Linked DNA regions of Homo sapiens: region 2 is linked to region 1. The links are contacts of gene promoters, found by promoter capture Hi-C in human tissues and cell types (Jung and others, 2019). All regions are on one chromosome and are shown on one strand. Each heading gives the region's core, a stretch centred on a gene start or on the middle of the fragment in contact. The rest is flanking DNA. Distances are from core to core; before and after follow the strand shown.

Region 1 (6,394 bases), core at 2,642-5,141:
CTTTTTCTTCTTTCTCTGGCTCTTCAATGTTTCCGCATTCCCCATTTTTGTCTCCATAACTTCCTTCTTGAATTCTCCTTCCCAAGATATCTATTCATTCCAGATCAGCTCTTACATGACTATGCTACTGAAGAGAAGGACAGGAAGTCTACTCTAATGGACTGCTTTTCTAAGTTAGCTGTTTAGAATGCAAGACCCATGTAACCATAGAAATGATGTAGCTACAGAACTGTACATTTATAACATGTGTTTCCAAGCACAGGCCCAAAACCTCTTACCTGCAACTAGTAAACCCAAACAGTGCCAAAAACTGGAAACTTTTAAGTTTGCAGTAACCTCATTTGACATCAAATGTGATCACGTGATTAAACTGACATGAGGTTATTAATAGTCTCAGTGTGAATATTCATAGAATTTCCAGCAAAAATATAAATGTGACTAAAGGTGATGGCCATATTTTATTAGGTAGATTATACAACATATTGCAAATATACCCAAATACCTTTCTAAAGTCTAAAAAATCTGAATCTCAAATATATTTAGCCCAAGTGTTTCTGGATAAAGTATTGTGGCACTGAACTATATTTTTATTTTCAGGTGCAGTATTTTTACCTACCTAGTGGACTATAAGATGGGCACATTCAGGAATCTAACCACTGTTCCAGCACTGGCCTTAGTGATGTTCAAAACGCACATTCACCTAAACTAAATCCCGTGTCTCAGTAATTTATCACTGTAGTAGGCAGTCATATGCAAGACATTCCTACATCAGCTGCTTTCACTTTGGGACCATCTGAATATTTATTAATATATTTACTTAATAAAGTTTTGTTTTCCCTCTTCCTAACCTAAAAACATACCGGTAAGCTGAAATTTTATCCTTTTCTTCCCTCTATGTCAGTAGTTCTCAACCTGAGCAATTTTGCTCTCCAGAGGACATTTGGCAACCTCTAGAAGCATCTCTGGTTGTCACAACTGGGGTTAGGAGTGTTAGTGGCATGTAGTAGTAATGGCTATGGATGCTGTTAAACACCCTACAGTACACAAAACAGAATAAAGAATTATCCAGTCCAAAATGTCAATAGCACCAACAGTGAGAAAGCTTCCTTTACATTGATCCCACCATCCTTATTAACAAAATGAAATAGCGCCACAGAATTTTAGAGTTTTTCAATTTGGATGGCTCAAATGACTTTTCCCTCAATGTAACTCTGTGATCCTCCCAACAAAACAAAACAATTTCCTCCTGTACCACTTTTTAAAATCATTTCTAATCATCAGATCCTTGACTTGGTAGGAAAGAAAACAATGAACATATGCTCTAAAGCTTATTATTATATTGCAGTAACAGTAAAAGAAGTAAGTTCCATAAATAATTGCAACTATCTTTTGTACATCCATTTTTCAAATGAGATTTCTATCAAAAAATAAAAATATTTTTCTCAAGCAATCAACTTCAACTTTTAAACTATTTTTTTCTTACATCTTAAAATTTACCTTTGAAAGAGTTCACGGTATGCCACCCAAAAATATGTCACTCTGCCATAAGGATTATTTTGAGCTGAAGGCAATCGAGAAGAAGCAGACATAAGAAAAACTCCGCCTTCCCCTGCTTTACCAGAAAGGGAAGGACTATTCTTAACAAGAGAAACCACTCTAGACTCTTAATAGAGACAGCACCAGGGGAACCTACATAACCAACCTTGCTAAAAGAACACATATCTTCCATTAGTTTCCCCACATATACCTTCCCACAATTTACTGCACCTACAAGTTCAAAGTCCTTTTCCTTTGTCTTGTCATTTTTTAAATAAATTCATTGTTCTTTATTAAGATGCCACATAAGCCCCATGTTTGAGTTACTATCGAGTTCTCCCCTATGTATGCATGATGCATGTCTTAATAAGCTTATGTTTTTCTCTTGTTAATATGTCTTTTATCAGTCTAATTTGCAGGGTCCCAGCCAAGGAACCTAAGCTGGGTAGAAGAAAAAGCATTTTCCTAGGGAAAAACAAAACAAAACAAAAAAGGGGGGAAGAGGTAGACAGAGGGAAGAGGAAAGAGTTGAATTTGGTACAGACCTGAATCTTTTATCTACATATGATACAATTAAGAATGTGAAGTTAAAACAGTAATAAGTACTTAAATGTACTCAGAAACGTTTCTCCCTTTTTTGGGCAAATAATCTTTTTTAAAAAAAATAAGAAAAGCTACCAGCTTACCCTTTACTTTTAGAGACCAAACCAAGAGACTGACTGAGTCGATGAATAAAGGCTCTTTCAGTACTGGTCAAAGAAGAAGGAAATTCCATTTCTACACGGAAAAAAAACAAAGTAGTAAAATTTGTAGATAGGCAATTTTCTCTCAAGTAAAACACACAGATACAAAATATGAAAAACATACATAGACAATCAAATTTATTATACTTTATTTGAGGTTAACTTTATATTTCATATTCTATTTATGTAAATTAATAAAATTAAGATATTTTATTAATTCAATAACTACTGAATGTCTATCAGAATTCTGATATTAATAAAAAGACAGCTATGTATTAAACCTAAATGTGATAAAGGCCTCTGATATTCACCAAAAACGACTCCTCTTACTTGTTCTGGAATTTTGAGTTGGTATAATGACTGAACATATTTAACTTGGTCCCTACTTGTTTAGTTAACAAAATGTTTATTTTCTTCAATGATGAGATATGTTCAAATATTATGAATTCTCAACATGAAACTCCATTGTCTTTGCTTTCAAAACTGTACAGAATTCGTATTTCACTATTTCAGAGGGATTTGTTATATATTGCTGAGGCTTTCTCTTTTTTTAATGTGAATTTAGAATCTCTCTGTCTAGAACATTCCCCGTTTTGGACTATAAGATTCCAGAGTAAGAGGTCCCCTAACTAAGCCAGCAGGTCCGAATGAGCCCTCAACAGACTGCACAGGTCACCGCAGGTCAGTTGCTGGTTCTGCATTATATGACCCAAGACAAGTGGCTATCTAACCTCAAGAGGTGTGGAAGATGCTTCGTGTGCCAAACAAGTTTAATTTAAGTGGGTAGCGTGATGCTTCAGGGTCCAAACGTATTGCTGGTGCATTTATTTATATGTTTGATTTCTTTCTGCTCTTCTACATCTGTAGCTTAAACGTGCCACAATTAGGTGACACCCCCTTAAAAAGGGTTAGGGCTAACCAATATCTGAAACACGGTGGCTTAACCGCCCAAGGCTGCTGAAAGACGCGGGGGAAAAACACTTTCAGCTAGGGAGCAAAGTGCCCATAACCCCATTGATCCGCAGAGCACCTCGCATTCCACCGCAGGGCCAACAGCCGCGTTCCAGACCCGGGTGCCGCCGCTGAGGCCCGCCCCGGACGGTGGCCCGGGTCTTCCCTCCCTCTTCGGAGGCACCCCCATCACTCGGTGGGCCGCCGTTTGGGGGGCGCTGGGGTGAGGGGGGTATCCTGACTGCCAGCATGGTCCCTGTCCGGAACCTCACCTCTCTGGTCCCCGTATCGGAAGCGCTCCAGCGCGATATTGACTGCGATCTTCACCTCCTCATCAATGCGAATGTCCTTCAGCCCCTTGGCCCGGCCGCCGCCCCCAGGGCCACAAGGCGAGGGGCCGCCGCCTCCGCCACCGCCAGGAGCCGGCTGCCGCGGGGAGACGCTGCTCGGCCTGGACATTGCCCTGAAGAGATGGTCTCTCCGCACGGGAGCGGCCAGGCCTGCTAGCTGACAGCCAATGACAAAGACCGTGGGAATCCGGGGCCACTACCGGGAAGCTCCGGAGACGGCCTGTGTTGGGCTGAGGTCACCAGAAAGGCCTCAGTCACCGCCACAGCAGAAGTGAAGCCTGCGCCATTGATATCACGGCCAGGCGAGGAGCGCGGGCGTAATGACGTCACCAGGGCCGGCGCCCGTGACCTCAGCGCGGCCGCCGCTGCGCGCCTAAAGGAGGCTGTCTGCGGAGCTATGGTGCGGTTCTCTTCCCGCGCCGCCCACCAAGGGTCGCTCCTCATCTTCTTATTCACTCACTTGCTACTTCGTTTAGTCCTTCATTAATTCCTGCAGTAAGCATGTATGGGCTTCTACTGTGGACCTGGCATTATGCCACGCCTTCGATGTACATTGGAGAACCAGAGAGCCAAGGTTCCTACCTTCATGGAGTTTATATTTTAGTGGGAGGAGGGTTGCCAGATTTAGCAAATAAAAATACAGAATGCTTAATAATTTGCATTTCAGATAAACGAATAATTTTTAGTGTATATATTTCCCATGCAATATTTGGAAAAATATCATAAAAAATACATATACTAAAGAATGAGCCACTGTTGTGTGTCTTGCATTCTTCCCTTTTCTGAATGGGAGATTTTAATGCAAGTATGCCACCCTTGCTCTATCACGCTACACAGGGTAGCTGAGTGGGGGCAGGTATGTAGTACATATTTACATAGTTCATGAGTTACCTGGCAATGAGGATATACATCTGGATCTAATAAAGAGGACTGTGTATCAACAACAGATCCTGGATGCAGTGACTAGATAGAATTCCAGGTGTCTGGGGAGGGTATATGTGTATTCTGTGTGTGGTAAGAAGGGGGCGGAATATTTGGTGACAAGAAGTATCTTTTCTTCCTAGGCATTATATTTCCCAACTCTCCTGCAGTTAGCTGGGGGCCACATGGCTGAGTTCCGGCCATTGGAATGTTGCTGGAACTGATGTATACCACTTCCAGGATTGGTCTATAACACCTTCCTTGAATCTTCCCTTCTCTGTCTTTCCTGGTCTTCTGGAAGTTCTTAGACAACGGTGGAACCACTAGATAGATAACAGGTTCCCGATTCCCTGAACGAGTGTGATAGAGTGTCCTCACCAACCCACATTGGAATATGACATGGGTAAGAAATAATTCTTAGTTGTGGTAAACTGCTGAGATTTGGGAAGATTTTTTTTTGTAACATTATGGTAAATTGTTGAATTCATCAAAGGTATGGCCTTTGATGAATCACACATTCCTCTGTTCACACCCTTGTATTCTTCCTTCCCACATGGACTCTGTCTTTGGCTATGTAACTTGCTTTGGCCATTGGGACATCAGCAAATACGAGATAAGCAGGGGCTTGAAAGGTGTTTGTGCATTAAGGCTTAGCCTGTTTTGCTGCTGAGAATTCTTCTTCCACAAAGTAAAGAAGCTTAGGCTAGCCCACTGACAACTATGGCCCAATCATCCACCAGCACCAAGGGCAAGACGTGAAAAAGGCCATAATGGAAAGTCTAGTCTTAGAAAAGCTGCTGGATGACCACAACTCTGTAAGCAACCCAAAGCAAGATTAGCAAAACCACCTAGCTAAACATAGTCCAAACTGTTGACCCACAGAACACATAAACAAATAAAATGAATATTGCTGTAAGCCACTAAGTTTTAGGTTGGGTTTCTTACACAGCAGTAGATAACTGATACAAAGAGTTAGCTTATTCTGACTAATATATTTGTACAATGATAAGGCTGATCTTGGGCATAAGTGACTAGGCTGAAAGAACTAGCTTCACCCGTTCCAGTTTGTACCCAGTTGCCTAAGAACTGGGGTCATCAACATCTTGATATGCCTGTAAACAACTTGTGGCATACGAGCATGCCACAGCACAGTGGTCTGGAGACTGCTCTCTTCTCATCTATAAAATTGACCTGGTAGAGTAATAAAGTCTTAAAATATAACCAACATGATTTTATTATTGATGCTAGGGATATTTCCTCCCACCCTTTGCCCCCTCATCACCCCTACTTTGCCAGCCCTCCATCCCTTTCTCTCTTGTTCAGCCAGGTCATTTAGGGGTTATTATTTGGGGAAATATTGTCTTAAGTTGGTTTCGGTTCTCTGGAACTGGAAAAAGTCACATAGTAATACACCAGTAAGTTGCCAAAAAGGATCCTGAGCCCTGCTTCTCTTGGGGAGAACAAAACAAAAACCCTGAATGGTGTGGGAGATCCTGGAACAGAATGGCCTGTGCTACTTTCCCAAGGGAAGGCCAGAGAGGCAGCTCAGGAAAGAAGGTAGTGTGGTGTGCCTAGGCAGGTGAGGCGCAGTGTGGTATAGAGCAGCAAAGGGTTCCTGGTGCCCAAGAGGTGTCCAGAATTGGCAGAGATATGCCAGACCTGAAGGAATCGCACAGTTGAGAATAAGCAATGAATGACTTAACGGTGACTTATGTTGTTTGACCACCAAGGATCAGAAACTCTTTCCCACACTTACTGATGCCTTGATACTCCGTAAGTCCCCCAGAACTTAAAAGCAAGCCTAGGCAAGAGTGGCAGCCCCTGAATTAACTGAGGTTAATTACAGAGAAACTAAGTTCTTTCATATCTAAATCTATGGAATAAAATTTGTAC
Region 2 (6,394 bases), core at 982-3,481, 1.7 Mb before region 1:
ACATGCCTGTAATCCCAGCTACTCAGGATGCTGAGGCAGGATAATCGCTTGATCCCGGGAGGCGGAGGTTGCAGTGAGCCGAGATCGCGCCATTGCACTCCAGCCTGGGCAACAAGAGCAAAACTCCACCTCAAAAAAGAAAAAAGAGGGGCATCCTACAAAATACCTGACCAGTACTCCTTAAAACTGTCACAGTCATCAAGAACAAGGAAAGTCTGAGAAAGTGTCACCGCCAAGAAGAGATAGGAGAATTATTTGTAACGTAGTATCCTGGATGGGATCCTGGAAAGAAAAAGGACACCAGGTAAAACCTAAGGAAATCTGAATATAGTTAATAATAATGCATCAGTATTGGCTCATTAATTGTGGCAAATTTACCATGCTAATGTAAGATGTCAATGAAAGGGGAAACGGGTGCAGAATAGTTGGGAACTCTGTACTATATTTGCAATTTTTCTGTAAATCTAAAACTTTTCTAAATTAAAAAGCTTATTTTTTTAAAAAAAGTATACACCATGTAGTAAAGTCCTGTCGTATTTGTGGGATTCTACTGTGCTGGCTAATATACCATCTTCTTTATAGAAACCTTGAACCAAACCCATCGTTCTCTCCTCTGAAGAGCTTAGGGCACTTTATAGACAGGGATATATGTTTTTATTGTTTCTACTGATCCAGGTGGCAACTTTTATGATTCCTGGGTTATATAGTAATGATATCTGCCATAGGGAAGGGCTTAGTAAAGGTCACCAGAATGGCAGCATAGCTGGGTGTGGAGCCTTGTATGGTACTTGTTCCAGTGCCATTCCAGGCTGGGCAGGAAAACTGGCCAGATGAATTCAATTCCATTAAATTCAACAAATATTAACTAGCACCTACTATGTATTGTAAGCACTGGGAAGCTATTAAGTTGGTGCAAAAGTAATTGCAGTGCAAAACTGCAATTACTTTTGCACCAACCTAATAAAACTGAAAAAGATTCTGTTTGCTGCTCAAGGACAGTGTGGTGTAATTGGGGAGAGACAAATGTATCAATAGACAATTTCAGTACAAGAAGTTATGTATCACGACAGATGTGTAAAAGGTGTTGAGGGAGCTTGGGAGGAAAGATACCTCGCCAGGCAGGAGGTGAGTATTGAGCCCTAGGAAAAAAGTCCCAGCCTGAAGTGCAGGTGAATCCTGGTTAGGGGGAAATGTGTTTTAGTTCTGTAGGGGCTCTGCTATGTCTGATTTCTTAAGCCTTGAGGGCTCTTCTGAAAGGTTTACTCAATAGCAGTAGTGGGACTACTTTAAAGCCAATTTTCCTGGCAGGGCATCAATCTTACTTTCGGGAACTCAAGTTTTGTGAGAACATGAAAGCGCTTTGATATATACGAATAGCAAAATCATAGTTCAAATAACTTGGCTTACTCTTCTGTCTCTGAGGTATGAATGGGGAAGGGAGATTTGCGCCGGATTTTGTGGACTGTAAAATATGCTGGCACTCCTAGGAGGGTGGTAACCGACCTGAACTTTCTGTTTATACCTTTAGGAGTGATTAATCAGGACAATGGAGATTAATGCTATTTTCTTCTACCCTTTGATAGTAAGGCATAAGCATTTTTTTCCTTAGGCTGTGAACCAGATCTGGGAGACACTTCCTGGGCCCCTTTCCTCCCTGTGAGAAATTTAATAATCCACATTCTCATTAGATCTCTAGGTCTCAGTGTGAGGCACTGTACAAAGCCCATTTTGCAAACATGAGAGACTTTTTTCTTTTCAGTAGTAAGTCACTGCATTAGAGAAGCAATTTCCTGATATGGAGGTTCCAAATAAATTGCCTGTGCTATCTAAATGTTTTTCCATGTATTTTGAAATTATTTGCTCTCTTTCCATGCCATTCTCTGAGGGATGAAGAGCAGCCAGCTGTTGGGTCCTCTTCTCCTTCTGCTTGCTGTCAGCACCACCTCCCCTCATCCTAGGAGGTCCTTCTGTCAAAGGCAAATGCCCATGACATAGCCTGAGACAGTTAACATCCTTCCTTTCATATCCACTTTCCTAAGCTAAGAAGAGTAGAGAAAGTATTTGCTTGGCTGTATTCAGCATCTTGTGTCTCACAGGCTACAATTCTTTGGTAAATTATGCCACTAATTGTTTAGCCATCAGGGAAAACTGGTCTTTTATAACATTTTCCTTTTCTGAGTCTCCCTAACACAATGAAAAGGCCCTAGTGTCCAGACGAGGATTTAAAAAGTGGAGTCTAGGGATAAGTTTACAATGCTTGGGGAAGAAAAAGGATACCCCACGAGTGAGAAGGCTGAGGCAGGAGGGGTGCTTGAGCCCAGGAGTTCGAGGTTACAGAACAACCTGGGTAGCTGATGCAGTGGAAGACATCACCTAAGGGATTTTATTATCTTTTGTGAGTAATGGAAGACTGGCATGTAGAATAACAAGATTCAAATATGACCACAATCAAAGGCACCTGAGCAAAGAAACACGCCCAGGCCCTTCCGAGTGGTTGAGGCTTGAAAAGTAAAGGCAGATAGTGGAGAGTTTTTAAATATGAGACAAGAGTACTGGGTGGTGGCTAGGACCATGGGGTCTCACCTGGCTCTGCCACCACCCCTCCTAGTGACTTTGAGTAAGTAGGTCACTCCACTGTTTGTGCCTCAGGGTGATTATCTGTAAAAGGCAAATACAATAGTACTTTGCGGAGTTTTGTGAGGATTAAGTAGGATGATATGAGTAAGCACTTAAAATGGTACCTCACCTATAATGAGAGCTTAAAAAATATTAGCTGTTATCATTATTATATTAAGATGTGAACAGAGCTCACTGGGGAGTCATCCTAAAGTTAAGACCCAAAGGCTCAGAAGGCTTTTAAATAAATTAGCTGGAGGAAAAAATAGATTCCTTGAAAAAATTCAGGAAATTTCCCTTTAAAAAACAAAAAGGCTTAGTTACAACCCCCACACACCTGCTGGCAGGTGGAGCCAGTCACAGCAGGAGAAGGAAGATGCCTGGAGCTTCTCAGGAGCATGGCTCAGACCTCCTCATGTCTTCTCCCACACGATTTAAATTTAGAATCCTATTCAGAGGACAATTAACCAAAGCTAAGTATACTGTCGTGCCTAGGGTCATGAACTAGAACCAAGCCAACTTGGCCTTTATTGGAACAGTGAACTTGGGGCTCCAGCTCTTGAGCCAGCAAGCAAATGACCTGTTGACTTAAGCAAGTTTCAACTTTCACCCTCATCTCAGAGCTCTGGTAAGGATTAGAACAACTCGAGTATCTTTACAGAATGACCTGTAATCTGCAAAGTGCTTTTAATTGAGAAGGATGATGTGTTACATGTTCTGTTATGCTCTTTACCCAGGTCTTTCATCTCTGAAGAAGGCGGTGGGAAACAAATGTTATTTCTCCTCTTCATACTCCTTTTCTCATTTATTCTGCAGGTATTATATTATAGGTGGTACAAGTGAATAGTAACAATAGAGGATTCATTGAGTCTTTAGTCTGTGTTGGCTACAATTCTAAGCTGTTTACATATATTAACTCATTTAATCCTTATAACAGCTCTCTGAGTCAATACTGTTATTGGGTCCATTTTTACAGATGAGTAAACTGAGGTATAGAGAAATGAGTTGCTAAAAGTCTCACAGCTATAACATGGCTATATTAGTTGTGACTAGGCTTGGTTGTATGTAAGAGAAAACTCAAATAACATGGTTTAATCAATTAATCAAGTTATAGTTTAATTGTCTCTGGAGTAAATGAAGATAGAAGGTAGGTGGTCAACAGTTGGAATGGAAGCTCCACCATCCTTAGATTCAGGCTCTTCCCTCTTTCCTCTCCAGCCATTTTAGTGAATGACTTCTATCCTCAGGTTCTCCTCAGTAGTCCAAGATGGTGGTTGGATGCCACGTATCAGAACTGTATTTCAGTTAGAAGGAAAGGAAAGAGAGGGCAAAAGAGCTCTCCCAGAAGCTGGACATAAAAACTCCCATTGATACCTCATTGGTCAACCCTTTCTGCAAAGCAAGCTGCAAAAGGAGTTTTCCTTTTCTTTTTAAGTTGGGCACATTTCTCAACGTTCTGTTACAAAGAAGGAGGAAAAGTGAATATTGAACCTATATACCATAAAATACAGTTCATTGGACCATAACTGTGGTGTTGGTTGGCAGGTGAAGACATAACTGTATTACTGTATTTATTTCCCACTTGGAATAGTCATTTAGAAAATATAAATAAGGTGGTGCACATAATTTTAAAAATTAGAAACTTACTAAAGCTTCCAGGTTTCCCTTAAGCACAATTTATTTATAATTAAGAAAATTCTTTAACTTCACAGTATTTAAATGGTTATTTGAGACTCTTGAATTTACGAGTAAAGGAAAGGCAAAGTGGTGTTTGGGTAAAATTATTTTTCTCCTTATTTTTATTCCGAAATTTTAATCTGAAGCTTTTCTCCCCGCAAGGCATTATTCTCGGGTTTCTGTTTCAAAATGTTCAGTACTAAAGCTTTCATTTGTCTTCTAAATAAAACAAGGGAAAACAATACTTGAATTAGATAGTTAGATAGTTTTTAGTTGGATTATAGTATACTAGATTGTGGCTAATACTTTTCTTTTGACCTCAGTTTCTCCCATTGTAAAGTAAGTATATTTATTCATTTGTTCATTTATTCATTGAGTAAACACTTTTTGGACTCAAATATGTGTTAGATATTAACACTTAATATTTGATAGTCATTTTTGTTTCATTATTAACCAAAAAATGGGATAATATGTAACAAATTATTTAAAGCTTGTTACTCTTACTCAATGAGTACTTTTACAGTTAAATAAAAAGTGTTTCTTTTCATAAGGGTAAACCAAATTTGTCTTAATAGAATACTGAAAAAGAAAGGTAAAATTCCTTTTGGAATTATAGGAAATTCAAATAGTTCAAATAAATATGTATCACACAGAGAATATTTTATATTATAAATCTTTAAAGATAAGCATATTGGAAGGAAAATGTCAACAATTTTCCTTTTCAAGAGTAAACAAATGCCTTGTGAAACACAAAGTTCTCCCCTAGCAAGCTGGTGAAATGCTGAAATAGATATATTTTTTGTAAAAATACAAAAATTAGCCAGGCGTGGTGGCATGCACCTGTGATCCCAGCTACTCAGGAGGCTGAGGCAGGAGAATCGCTTGAACCTGGGAGGCAGAGGTTGCAGTGAGCCGAGTTCGCATCACTGCACTCCAGCCCAGGTGACACAGTGAGACTCCATCTCAAAAAAAAAAAAAAAAAAATCATAGCTCCCCACCTTGCATTGGCTGATCAGTGTGTAATTTAGGGACAGATGAAAAGATGCCAGCCTCTCTGCCAAGAACTTGTCCTTCCTGCTTCTCAAAGTCAATGTTATTTTTATGGTGTGATGTGTATAGAATCCTTTCTTAGCACTTTTTTTCTATTCTGTGAATTTCTTCCCAGATATTTTCCTCTTTTTGGTAGAGCTAGAACAACAGTGCTCAAGCTCTACCAAATACTCAGTTTAATCAATAAGTCGGTAGCATATATTGGTGTTATTAACATTTTAAATTTCAATTTAATGGAGATAAGAGCTGTGCCTTTTATTGAGGAACCCTGGCACAACAAGATTTTTAAAATATGTGTGAGTGGCAAAATAGAAAAATCGATATGATTTATCATTTTGCTGGAGCCAATGAACTACATGTTTGTCCATCAGACAGTAGCCAACACTATACTAATTACTACCTCCTAATATACCCTATCTCCTCACTCACTGCCCCTAAAAGGAATACTCGAACTGAATCTGAGATCCTATAAATTATCCCTCTTCCTCTCTCTAGCTTGCCTCCCTCTACACCCACATAACAAGCAATCTTCTAAAATAAATAAAGAACAACAGGATGATAGCTCTTAGGGTCAGCCTAATAAGAAACCTCATTATTTCTGGTTTAGAACATTTCAAAGCAACACCCAGGAACCTTCAGAATGGTAAAAAAACATTGATGCTTAGCTATGAGGCATGAGGCAGGAGGAGTAATACAAAGTGGACCTTTGCCCCAGGATGATGACTGAGGTATGACTAGAAGGTTCTTCATCCTCTCAAAGAGCAAACTTTTGTGGCAGTAACACAACCAGGCAAGATGAGAGAAGCAGATCAAAGAAACTAAAAACAGAGTAAGTGGTTAAATTATTTATGATGATGCTGCAGCTGTATTGATCAGAGGCAGATTTCTCTCTTAACCCTACTTTCCTTGTACCTATAGAAGTTGTCATCGCCCAAAGAATTTTTGACCTAATGTGAAAGTGTGGGGGTTGATGGAGAGAGAAGTGGGGGGAGGGAGTGGGTGAATAGCTAGTCAGGACCTTAGTTAAGAGAACACTGGTTATCCAATATGG

What was found. Contacts are between HindIII fragments. The study calls those that stand out against the background at their distance.
Region 2: a fragment that was not itself captured here is called in contact with the fragment with the promoter of YTHDC2 in region 1 in 1 of the 25 tissues and cell types used here (small bowel).

Annotation. Positions count from the first base shown.
Region 1 is chr5:113,511,191-113,517,584 of GRCh38, reverse strand. YTHDC2 (YTH N6-methyladenosine RNA binding protein C2) reads right to left here and starts at 3,891. Exons shown (of 30, transcript NM_022828.5): 1 at 3,503-3,891; 2 at 2,223-2,313. The coding sequence starts at 3,689. LOC124901046 (a long non-coding RNA gene) reads left to right here and starts at 3,927. Exons shown (of 2, transcript XR_007058905.1): 1 at 3,927-4,154; 2 at 4,645-5,726. RefSeq lists a silencer at 3,406-3,635 and enhancers at 3,588-4,089, 4,086-4,135. The HindIII fragment of the contact is 6,758 bases long and covers 1,618-6,394 here.
Region 2 is chr5:115,186,659-115,193,052 of GRCh38, reverse strand. No RefSeq gene overlaps it. Among named protein-coding and RNA genes, the nearest start is that of TRIM36, 20 kb to the right of the region's middle. The HindIII fragment of the contact is 4,821 bases long and covers 1-4,641 here.